3 separate regions of the Homo sapiens genome follow, and regions 1 and 3 are each linked to region 2. Evidence: promoter capture Hi-C in 16 types of primary human blood cells and fetal thymus (Javierre and others, 2016). All regions are on one chromosome and are shown on one strand. Each heading gives the region's core, a stretch centred on a gene start or on the middle of the fragment in contact. The rest is flanking DNA. Distances are from core to core; before and after follow the strand shown.

Region 1 (2,913 bases), core at 278-2,777, 230 kb before region 2:
GATGGGCCTGGGCAGGGCCTGGTTTCGGGGTCCCCATGGGCTTCCTGGGCTAGGCTGTCCCATGGTCCTGGGGCTGTCCAGGACACATTTGGAAGGGACTTGGACCCAGCAGCTCTGTTCAAAATCATAACGGGGGGCAACGAGGGCCCCCCACATCCAGGTTCATAGGGATGGAGCCGTGGCATGGAGTTCCACTGGAGGAACCTCCAGGAAACCTGAGGTTCCCCCTGAGCCAGGGCCAGGCTGGGCACACCCTCAGTCCCCGGTGCCCCCAGAGAATGGCCTGCTGCCCTAGGTTCCATGGAAGCCCCCTCGTGCCACTGGGCCTTGGCCTCACAGATAGTCCCATCAGGACAGGGTATGAAAGGACGAGGCACCCATGGAGGGGAAGCTGACCAAACGGGCCACCCATGGCGGGGAAGCTGGCCAAATGGGCCACTGGAACCGAGTTGTTGGGCCAGGAGGGGCCTGCCTGTCCCCCTGCCAGAGGGTCTTCCTGCCAGGTGAAGCCAGCCCAGGCCTGGGTGCCAAGGACCCTTGCTCAGGTTTGGCTGAAAGAAACAGACGTGGTCAGCATCTCCAGTGAGCCCACGCAGTCCTTTCTTGGCCGGGCTCCACCTGCCTGGGTCTCTGGAGTCCTCAGGGTCTCTGTGTAGCCCCTGTGGTCTGACACTGAGGACACACCTGCAGGCTGCTGATCGCAGACGGAGGGGTCTGTGCCTCCTGTGGTGGGAAGCTGTCGGGGTGCAGCAGGTGGCTCCTGGGACTGCCCTCCCCCAGAGTTCAGGCTGGCTGGGGGCTTCCTGCCCCATGCCGTCATCCCAGGACTGTTGAGCCTGGGATACAGCCTCCAGTCAGAACTCAGGTGGGAGGGGCCTTGGCTGTCACCCAGTCCCCTCGCCACCTCACATGGAGACCTGTTTCCACGGTGGGTGAGAGAGCCCAGATACAGAGCCCCCTCTGCCCTCCTGGGCTGCCCAGTCCATGCCAGGACTGACCGTTCCCACACCTGGCTGAACTCTTGGCTCTGGCTCTGGGCCAGGGGTCCCCCCTGTGCCCACCCACTAAACGCCCTGGTCGGGGATCAGGGACATAGATTCCCTTGTCTCTCTGGCTCAAGGCTTGTTGTCCTGGCACCCTTGGAGGGGTGTTCAGGAGTGAGGAGCCTCTGCTGCTCTCTGAGGCTGTCAGTGCTCGCAGGGAGGGGTGGGGAGTCCCATAGATGGATCTGGTTCCTCCAATGACCCTGAGGGCCCTTTGAAGGGGAGAGTGGGACATGGTGGAAAGTGGGAGGGGGCTTGTTGGAGAGTCTTGCGCACATCCCCCTCCTGCTTGCACAGCACGTCCGGTACACACAAACTGACCACCTGCCCTGAGGACCTGGGGGCCTATTGTACTTTCTTAGAGTCCGGAGGAAGAGGAGGAAGAAAAGGCGAAGAGGAAGGCCCAAGTAGTAGTGTTGGAGGTCCTGGGCACTCCCCAACTACTGACTGCCCCAGGGGGTGACTCGGGAGGGTACCTGGTGCTGCAGGCCACCTGGGGGTGGCAGGTCCCCAGGCTTCCTTGTTTCCTCATAGAGGCCCAAGGGTGTCTGAGAACTGCATCATCATCCAGGGCCCAGGTATGGGAAAACTGGTCCTGAAAACATGCCCACGGCCACACCTGGATATCTTCACGAGGTGCTCTAGGGACAGGGTAGGCATCAGGCTAGGAGTGTTCCCTGGGAGGGGTCAGAGCCCATACCCCGTTACTACCTCAGCATCTCCCACTGGGGAGTGCCGGATCCCTTTGTGGCCACCCCAGGGGTCCAGATGTGCACAGGAGGCTGTGGCTAGGGGGCAGCCTGAGCAGGGAAGTGCTCACCACACTCCTGACTTTCATCTGGGTCATGTAGGGGATGGGCTCCCACAGGAGGGGGTATGTCACTGTTCCCTGCCCAGCCTACCCAGCCAGACCTCCCTCTGGGCCAGAGAAGAGGATCATGGGGACAGTGTGAGGAAGCTGCCACCGGGCCAGTCAGGGTCTGACCCCTGTGCTCCCCAGTCCCCATTGGGCACACGTGGACTTACTCCTCTGAACCTTAAAGGCAGTGCGTGCCATTGGCGTCAACACCTGTTCCCCTTCTAGCAAATACACGTCCCAAAGGCTCAGGGTGAGCCCGAGAGAGATCTGTGGGGACAGCAGGTGTGGGAGGACCTGGCCCTTCCAGGCTGGGGGCTGGTGGCTCGAGCCGGGCCCACTGGGGCTTCAGTCCCCCAGTCACTGACCCTTCCCATGAGGGTCATCAGACCCCTTCAGGAGGCTGGGTCAGACAAGGTCTTGCAGCTCCTCATGGGGGAGCACTCATTTCAGTGGGGATGTGGCTTCTGGAGAGAGGGGCTTCCCCAGGACTTGAGGCTTCCTTGAGCCCTCCCAAGTGGGTCCTGGCCCAGTCTGCCCATGAGGCTGGGCCTGAGTCCCAGCCTCTGCCGTGGGATGACCCCTCTTGGGCAGAGGGCTTTGCTTGTGTGTCCTGCAGATATCTGCCTGTGCCTCCTATGTGCTGGGGGTGAACCGGACCCCTGGGCGAAGAGCAGGGCCCTGTAGGGCAAGGAGGGTCCCTGAGCCAGGGTCTCCCTGTGCCTCCTTACCCCATTGATCAAGCTCCAAAGCAACCAACCTAATGAGGAACCCTGAATGCATAGCCCTTCCTTGTCCTGATGGGAGGAACAGAGGTGCTCAGGTCCCTCTGGGCTGCCCTAAAAACCTCCCTCTTCCAGGGCCCTCTGAAGACCCTTCCCCAAGTGCAGAACACTGGGCGGTGTCCAGGGCTCCTTACACCTTCCCCTCCCTGCACTCCTGGTGGACACACTGTCCTTAGCCCTGCTCTGTGGGAACTGGCCCCAGTCCCTGTGCCTCTGTCTCCTCCAGGGC
Region 2 (2,881 bases), core at 26-2,525:
GTATTTTTAGTAGAGACGGGGTTTCACCACGTTGGCCAGGCTGGTCTCCAACTCCTGACTTCAGGTAATCCGCCCGCCTCGGCCTCCCAAAGTGCTGGGATTACAGGCGTGAGCCACCGCTCCCGGCCAGCTTTGTTCTTTAATGACCGGATAAAGCAGTCTACCTTTGGGTACGGAATTAAATTTAGGCAGAAGTGGCGGGGTGTGCCCCAACCCCTCCCACCCTGCAACTTAGGGGAGGGGTTCCCTCAACCTCTTTCCCACCCCAGGGAAACAGAGGAGGTAGAGAGCTGGGTTCACACGCGGCCCCACTTCTTTCCTGCGGGGTGACCCCGAATAGGTCACAGAAACTCTCTGGCCTCGTTTTTTCATAAAGTGAGAATGAGTGTGTCCCTAGGGCGGCTGAGAGGATATATAAGGAAAGAAGACTCAGGGTCTAGGCCCTTGGAAGGTGCAAAGAGAAGGACAGCTGGTTAGGCAGCAGCTGAGAGGGAGAAGCAGCCCGGGGGCTGGGCTCGGCTGGGGGTGCCTCCAGGACCCGGACAGAACCTACAGCGTCATTAAGAGCAGGAATCTGGGCGCGGCCCCAGCCTCTCCCCGGGGTCCTCAGGCTTGGGTGGGAGGTGAGGGGTAGGGGCCGACGCCAAGATCATCCCAGGGCACACACCTGGGTATCGCCCATCTCCACACCTTCTCAGCCCCCGACGGGCGCGTGAGGCCCAGAGAGGAGCAGCCCCGGGACCCGTCCCTCCCCTTGCCTGACCCTGGCTAGGAAAAGGGGCCTGGAGCGCCCCCGGGCTCCGGAAACGCGGGACCCTCCGCAGGCAGCCGAGCAGGGCGGCCGCCGGGGTCACCGCTGGGCGCCGCCGGAGCTTTAATTCGATCCATGTGCGGGACTCCGGCCTTTTGTGCGGGAGCTTCCGCCCTGCGCGCCGGGTCCCCGGCTCCCGCTCCCGGGCTGGGACTCGGCCCTCCGCCGGCCTCACTGAGCCCTCGCCCCGGACCTGCCGACTCCCCGACTCCGGGGAGAGAGACCAAGAGACTGGGACGCAAAGGGCGTGAGGACCGCACCCCCCACCCGCAGGCCCCTCCAGGGGCGCCGCGCCGGGGGTCCCGGCTGGCGACCGAGCAGGCTCCGGCCGAGCACTGCCGGCGCTGTCACCTGTGTGCACCGGGGACAGGGACGGAGGGACGCGACCCCCACCCACCCGGCCCGCTTACCTGGGCCGCCCGCGCCCCGGCGGCTCCGATCCGACGCCCGAGCCAGCGGAGCCCGGAGCCGCTGGGCCTCCCGTCCCCTCCGCCCGTCCGCCCTCCCCGCCCCCTCGGCTCCCTCCGCCCCGCCGCCCCGCGCCGCTTTACCATAAAAGGTGAGGCTCGGGGGGAGGGGGCGCGGGATTCCCGCCCCGCGGAAGCGGCCCCTACCTGCCCCCCAACCTGCCCGGCCGCGCCCCGCGCCGCCCCTTCCCCCTCCCTTTGTTCCCTGGACGACGCCTCCCCTCCCCCTTGGCACAGGCCAGGGGGTGGGAATGGGGGGGAATGGGGATGGGGGCGATGGGGGAATGGGAGGGATGGGGAGTGGGGGTAGGAGAATGGGGAGTCGGGGTGGGTTTCCTTCCCTCCCCGCTGCCCATCCCCTCGCGTTCTTCATGGACCCCGAGTGGTCCCTGCCGTCCCCCTTCCCTCGCTCTCCTGGGTTGGCAACCCCACCTACCCTGTCCGGCGGAGGTGAGCGCTTACTTTGGCTCTGGGATCCGCCAGGGTCTTGCGTCAAACCGACCAGGGTTCTGCGGCCGTTTACTAAGCGTGAGACCCGGAGCAGTCACGCCACCTCCTGAGCCTCAGTGTCTTCATCTGTAAAGTGGAGGTAGCCACTGCCTACCTCTCCAGGTTGGCCTGAGGATAAAAGGTGACAGTTACAGCCAGGACTGTGATTAATAGTGGTTAATATATGCTGGGTTGGGGGCTTTTTCCGGGAGTGTTCCTGAGGGTGGGGGTCTCGGAGACCCCCAGTGGAGCAGGTCACCTTGTTCTGCTCTCCTGAGCGGTAAGCCCTCTGCAGGTGGGTCCCGGTGTCCCGGGGGACAGGCCGCTCCAGGAGCTCTGGAAGGCAGGGCCCGGCTGGCCCTGTGGCTGAACCCCTCCCTCCACATCCAGTGACCCTCCCCCTCCCAGCTGGAGCAATTAGGACGGGAGCGGGAGGGGAGGCAGAGCCTGGACTCTGGGGCCCGGGATGGGGCCGGGATGGACTGCCTGGGTCCCTGGAGGCCTCAGGGACATTGTGGGGAAAGGAATCTGGGTCTGATTCAGAGGCAGACAGATTGTTCTTTTGATTAAAGCCACAGTGGCTGAGGCTTGAGGAGCGCTGGACCCAGCGCCATCTGCGGGGTGGCCAGACAGGATCTGGCCCGTCCTGCAACCCCTCAGCTACAGTCACCCCTCCAGGGTGGCTCTGGGGCTGTTTCTGAGGGAGGCTGGTTTATGAGGGTCAGAGGAGGCTGCCTCCGCCCTCACCCACTGATCATCGCCCCTCCCATCCCTCTTGTCGCCCCTTTTCCCATTTGATCCTCTCAGCCAAGCTGCAGTAACAGCAGCAGTCCCAGGAGCTGCCATTGATAGGGGCTTTCTAGGTGCTGGTACCCATCCTCATCCCCATCCTAATCCCACAAGAGCCATGAGCACCAGGGCTGATGATTCCTGTTCACGGTCAAGGACACTGAGGCCCCGAGAGGCTCAAGGCCACACTAGGGGCAAATGGCAGAGCCAAATTCAAACCAGAGCCGCTGTGTCCCTGGGCACACAGCTCTGCTAGTCTCAAGAACAGGTACCAGTGCCATCCTTTACAGAATCGGAAGCTGGGGCTTGGAGGTGCTGAGAGTTC
Region 3 (2,920 bases), core at 273-2,772, 190 kb after region 2:
TAGGTTAGAACAGGACAAAGGAAAGATTCTTCTAGCCATGGTTCTAGAAGAGCAATCTAAAATCTATACTCTGTTCATTGTGGTAGTTTGAGTCCTGAAAATACCTGTTCACAGGGGCATGTTAAAAAGTCTGAAGAGTTCAAATCTCTTTGGAAAATCCTCTCAGTCTAGTTCAGGCCATGATGGGATATAAAACCTCTGTAAGGAGCCCTCCAGCAGGCGTTCCATCCATAAAGAGAGCTTGCTCAACTTTCCTTTGATGGGCCTGGATCCAAGGCCACAGGAAGGTTTCCCTCGAGATTCACCCAGGTAGAGGGAAGAGTCAACATCACTGCACGACCCTATGGCTTCCTCCTCTTCGACTGTCTTTTGGGGCTTGAAGAGGCAGAAGTATTTCTTGTGGCCATTCAGAGCCAGTACATAACCAGTGTAGTCACGCTCCATGAAATGCTTATCATATTGGTTTGGGATTGGAGCTGCATCTTGAGCAAATTCTAGTAAGTATTCTAGCCATTCTCTGTGTTTATCTAGACTCAGGAAGGAGAAGTGTAGGCAGCTGCTCCTGTAGGAAGAAGAGAATTGAGGACTCAGGGCATTTCCTGACACATTTAATTGCTGAGAAAATAAATACCCCAGTGAGACTTAAAATAATAGGAAAACGCTTTGTGTTGGATGGGGCCTGAACACAGAGAAAAAGAAGGCCTTCTGTGGGAGCCAGTGCCTCTCCAGCAGCTGCGACACTTCAATCACCCATTCCCCCATCGCTTGCTCGGTGGAACTTAACATTGCTCTTCTGGAAAATACACAAGGGCTAGAGAACAGTAACTGAAAGGGCTCAGGGAATAACACTGAGTTCAAGCTTTTCTGTTCAGAACCAACAAAACACGAAGTGAAGTGGGAAAAGAGGTCCCTGTCGCAATGGCTCAGATGTCTGGATTGGAAAGGTCACAGCCAGCATCTTGCTGTATGGATGAAGCCCCACAAGACCAAAGAGAAAAGCGTGCAATTTCAGTGTGCCTGCCTCTCTCTCTCTCACACACATACATACATGCACACACACACATGCTTACCCAGTAAATGTGTAGACCTCCAAAGCAAATTTCTGTAGTAGGCTGGTCTTGGTAGAATTCGACAGGATGAGGACCACATTCATGTGGCCTGGCCTCAGACGTACCAAGTTACTGGTGTATGTTACATCTGTGAGTTCAGTTACCTCCACAAAGCCTTTTTTAGGAATCTTGCTGTGGAGAAATATTGAGGAGTTAAGATGCTGTCAGGATAGGGGGAAAGCCGTTACTTTGAAAAGAAACAGCTGAAAGAAAATGCTATGTTCTAACCAGACTAGGTATGTTATTCACTATTCTTGAGTCTAACACATTGGTAGGATGGGGATGGCCTGACTTGGTAATCCCTGACCTACAAACAGCCTTTCTGTGCTGCTTTTCTTTTTCTTTTTGAGATAGGTTCTTGCTCTGTTTTCCAGGCTTGAGTGCAGCGACATGATCATGGCTCACTGCAGCCTCGACCTCCTGGGCTCAAGTGATCCTCCTACCTCAGCCTCCCAAGTAGCTGGGACTACAGGTGCCTGCCACCACATCCAGCTAATTTTATAAGTTTTTTGTAGAGACAGGGTCTTGCCATGTTGCCTAAGCTAGTCTCAAACCCTGGGCTCAAGCAATCCTCCCACCTAGGCCTCCTAAAAGTCTTGGGATTACAGGCGTGAGCCACTGTGCCCTGCTTGATGCTGCTTTTCAGGTGCAGAAGTTGCTCTAGGACAGAATGAAGAAGACAACTATCATTCAGTCTATGTTCTTTGTCTCGGAGACCCTGGCCTCTTGCTGCTGGGTGTGTGTGCGCACAAGACTGGTTACGTTCATTGACATTTACAGGGATAAACCACGTCCTGCTTCTGGCTCACCTAACACTTGCCTGATAGGCTTCTTTCCTTCTGCCTTCATTATGAAATCTAAGGCATCTAAACACCTACAGGGTCTTAGTAAACACAAATCACAGTGACTTTTCCCTGTAGCCACAGTTTACATGGGAGGAGGTGCATGAGAGTTCTTCTCTACACTCTATGTTCCAATGCTGCGTTATCAGATGACAGGATCTGGGGGGCAGGTGCCGGGGAGGTGAGTCTGGTGTTTTGTTAGAGAAACCTGCTGTTTTCTTTGGTGAAGCTTGGCTCAGTTTTCCCAGTCTTCTCTTGGGCTTCCTCTTTTTCTGGAGGGCTTGACTCTCGCTCATCATTAGAGTCGCTAAAGTAAGAAAAAAGGAGTTTTACAAAAAAAGTGTCAACACCAACCATGGTGGTGCACCGAGAAGCCACAGGACATTTACCTGAAAGCCTGAACGATGACAGTGCCGAAGAGGATGAAGAGGGCAGAGAAGATCAGGGACAGCAGGGGCATCATTTCCCTCCTAAAACCAAATTAACAAACTATTAGCTCAAGTTAAAATTTCTTCTCTCCAGCTAAAAAAAGATAAAATAAAAATCCCAAACCAAAAACTCTTCACACCAATAAACGCTTACTAATTTCAGGCAAACAGAGCTTTTCTTGGCGGGTGGAGGTGGTGGAGGGGAAGGTAGAGATTGCTCAGTGTTCTAATTCACAGACAGCTTATTCTAAAAGTTTGATTTTGTATCTCAGTATAATAGGCTATGCTCAATAAGTTCTGCATGAGGAAACAATAAAAGGGATAATAAAGGACTTAAGGTGTAAACATGGAAGAATTTTCTGACATTGTGGAATTATTTCCTCAACTTTACTGATTTTTTTCTGGCCAGAAAAATTCAGATGTAGCCCAGAGGGGTGGAGTAGGGAGATAAAATTGATCTTTCAAGATTTCATCTAGGACTGGTGTTCTGAAATTTTATGTACCTACCAACACCCATCAAAGGCTGTCATTTGTCAGGTGC

Evidence for each region. The method cuts DNA at HindIII sites, captures the fragments that hold promoters and counts their contacts. A CHiCAGO score of 5 or more calls a contact.
Region 1: a contact is called between a fragment that was not itself captured here and the fragment with the promoter of FBLIM1 in region 2, in 3 of 17 cell types (M1 macrophages, erythroblasts and M0 macrophages). The highest score is 6.2, in M1 macrophages.
Region 3: a contact is called between a fragment that was not itself captured here and the fragment with the promoter of FBLIM1 in region 2, in 4 of 17 cell types (M2 macrophages, M0 macrophages, endothelial precursors and 1 more). The highest score is 7.3, in M2 macrophages.

What each region holds. Positions count from the first base shown.
Region 1 is chr1:15,990,934-15,993,846 of GRCh38, reverse strand. No RefSeq gene overlaps it. Among named protein-coding and RNA genes, the nearest start is that of SRARP, 12 kb to the left of the region's middle. The HindIII fragment of the contact is 5,362 bases long and covers 1-2,913 here.
Region 2 is chr1:15,757,189-15,760,069 of GRCh38, reverse strand. FBLIM1 (filamin binding LIM protein 1) reads right to left here and starts at 1,275. Exons shown (of 9, transcript NM_017556.4): 1 at 1,222-1,275. The HindIII fragment of the contact is 4,964 bases long and covers 1-2,881 here.
Region 3 is chr1:15,565,420-15,568,339 of GRCh38, reverse strand. DNAJC16 (DnaJ heat shock protein family (Hsp40) member C16) reads right to left here. Exons shown (of 15, transcript NM_015291.4): 12 at 2,341-2,421; 13 at 2,160-2,258; 14 at 1,071-1,241; 15 at 1-562. The coding sequence ends at 163. Among named protein-coding and RNA genes, the nearest start is that of AGMAT, 18 kb to the left of the region's middle. The HindIII fragment of the contact is 1,321 bases long and covers 862-2,182 here.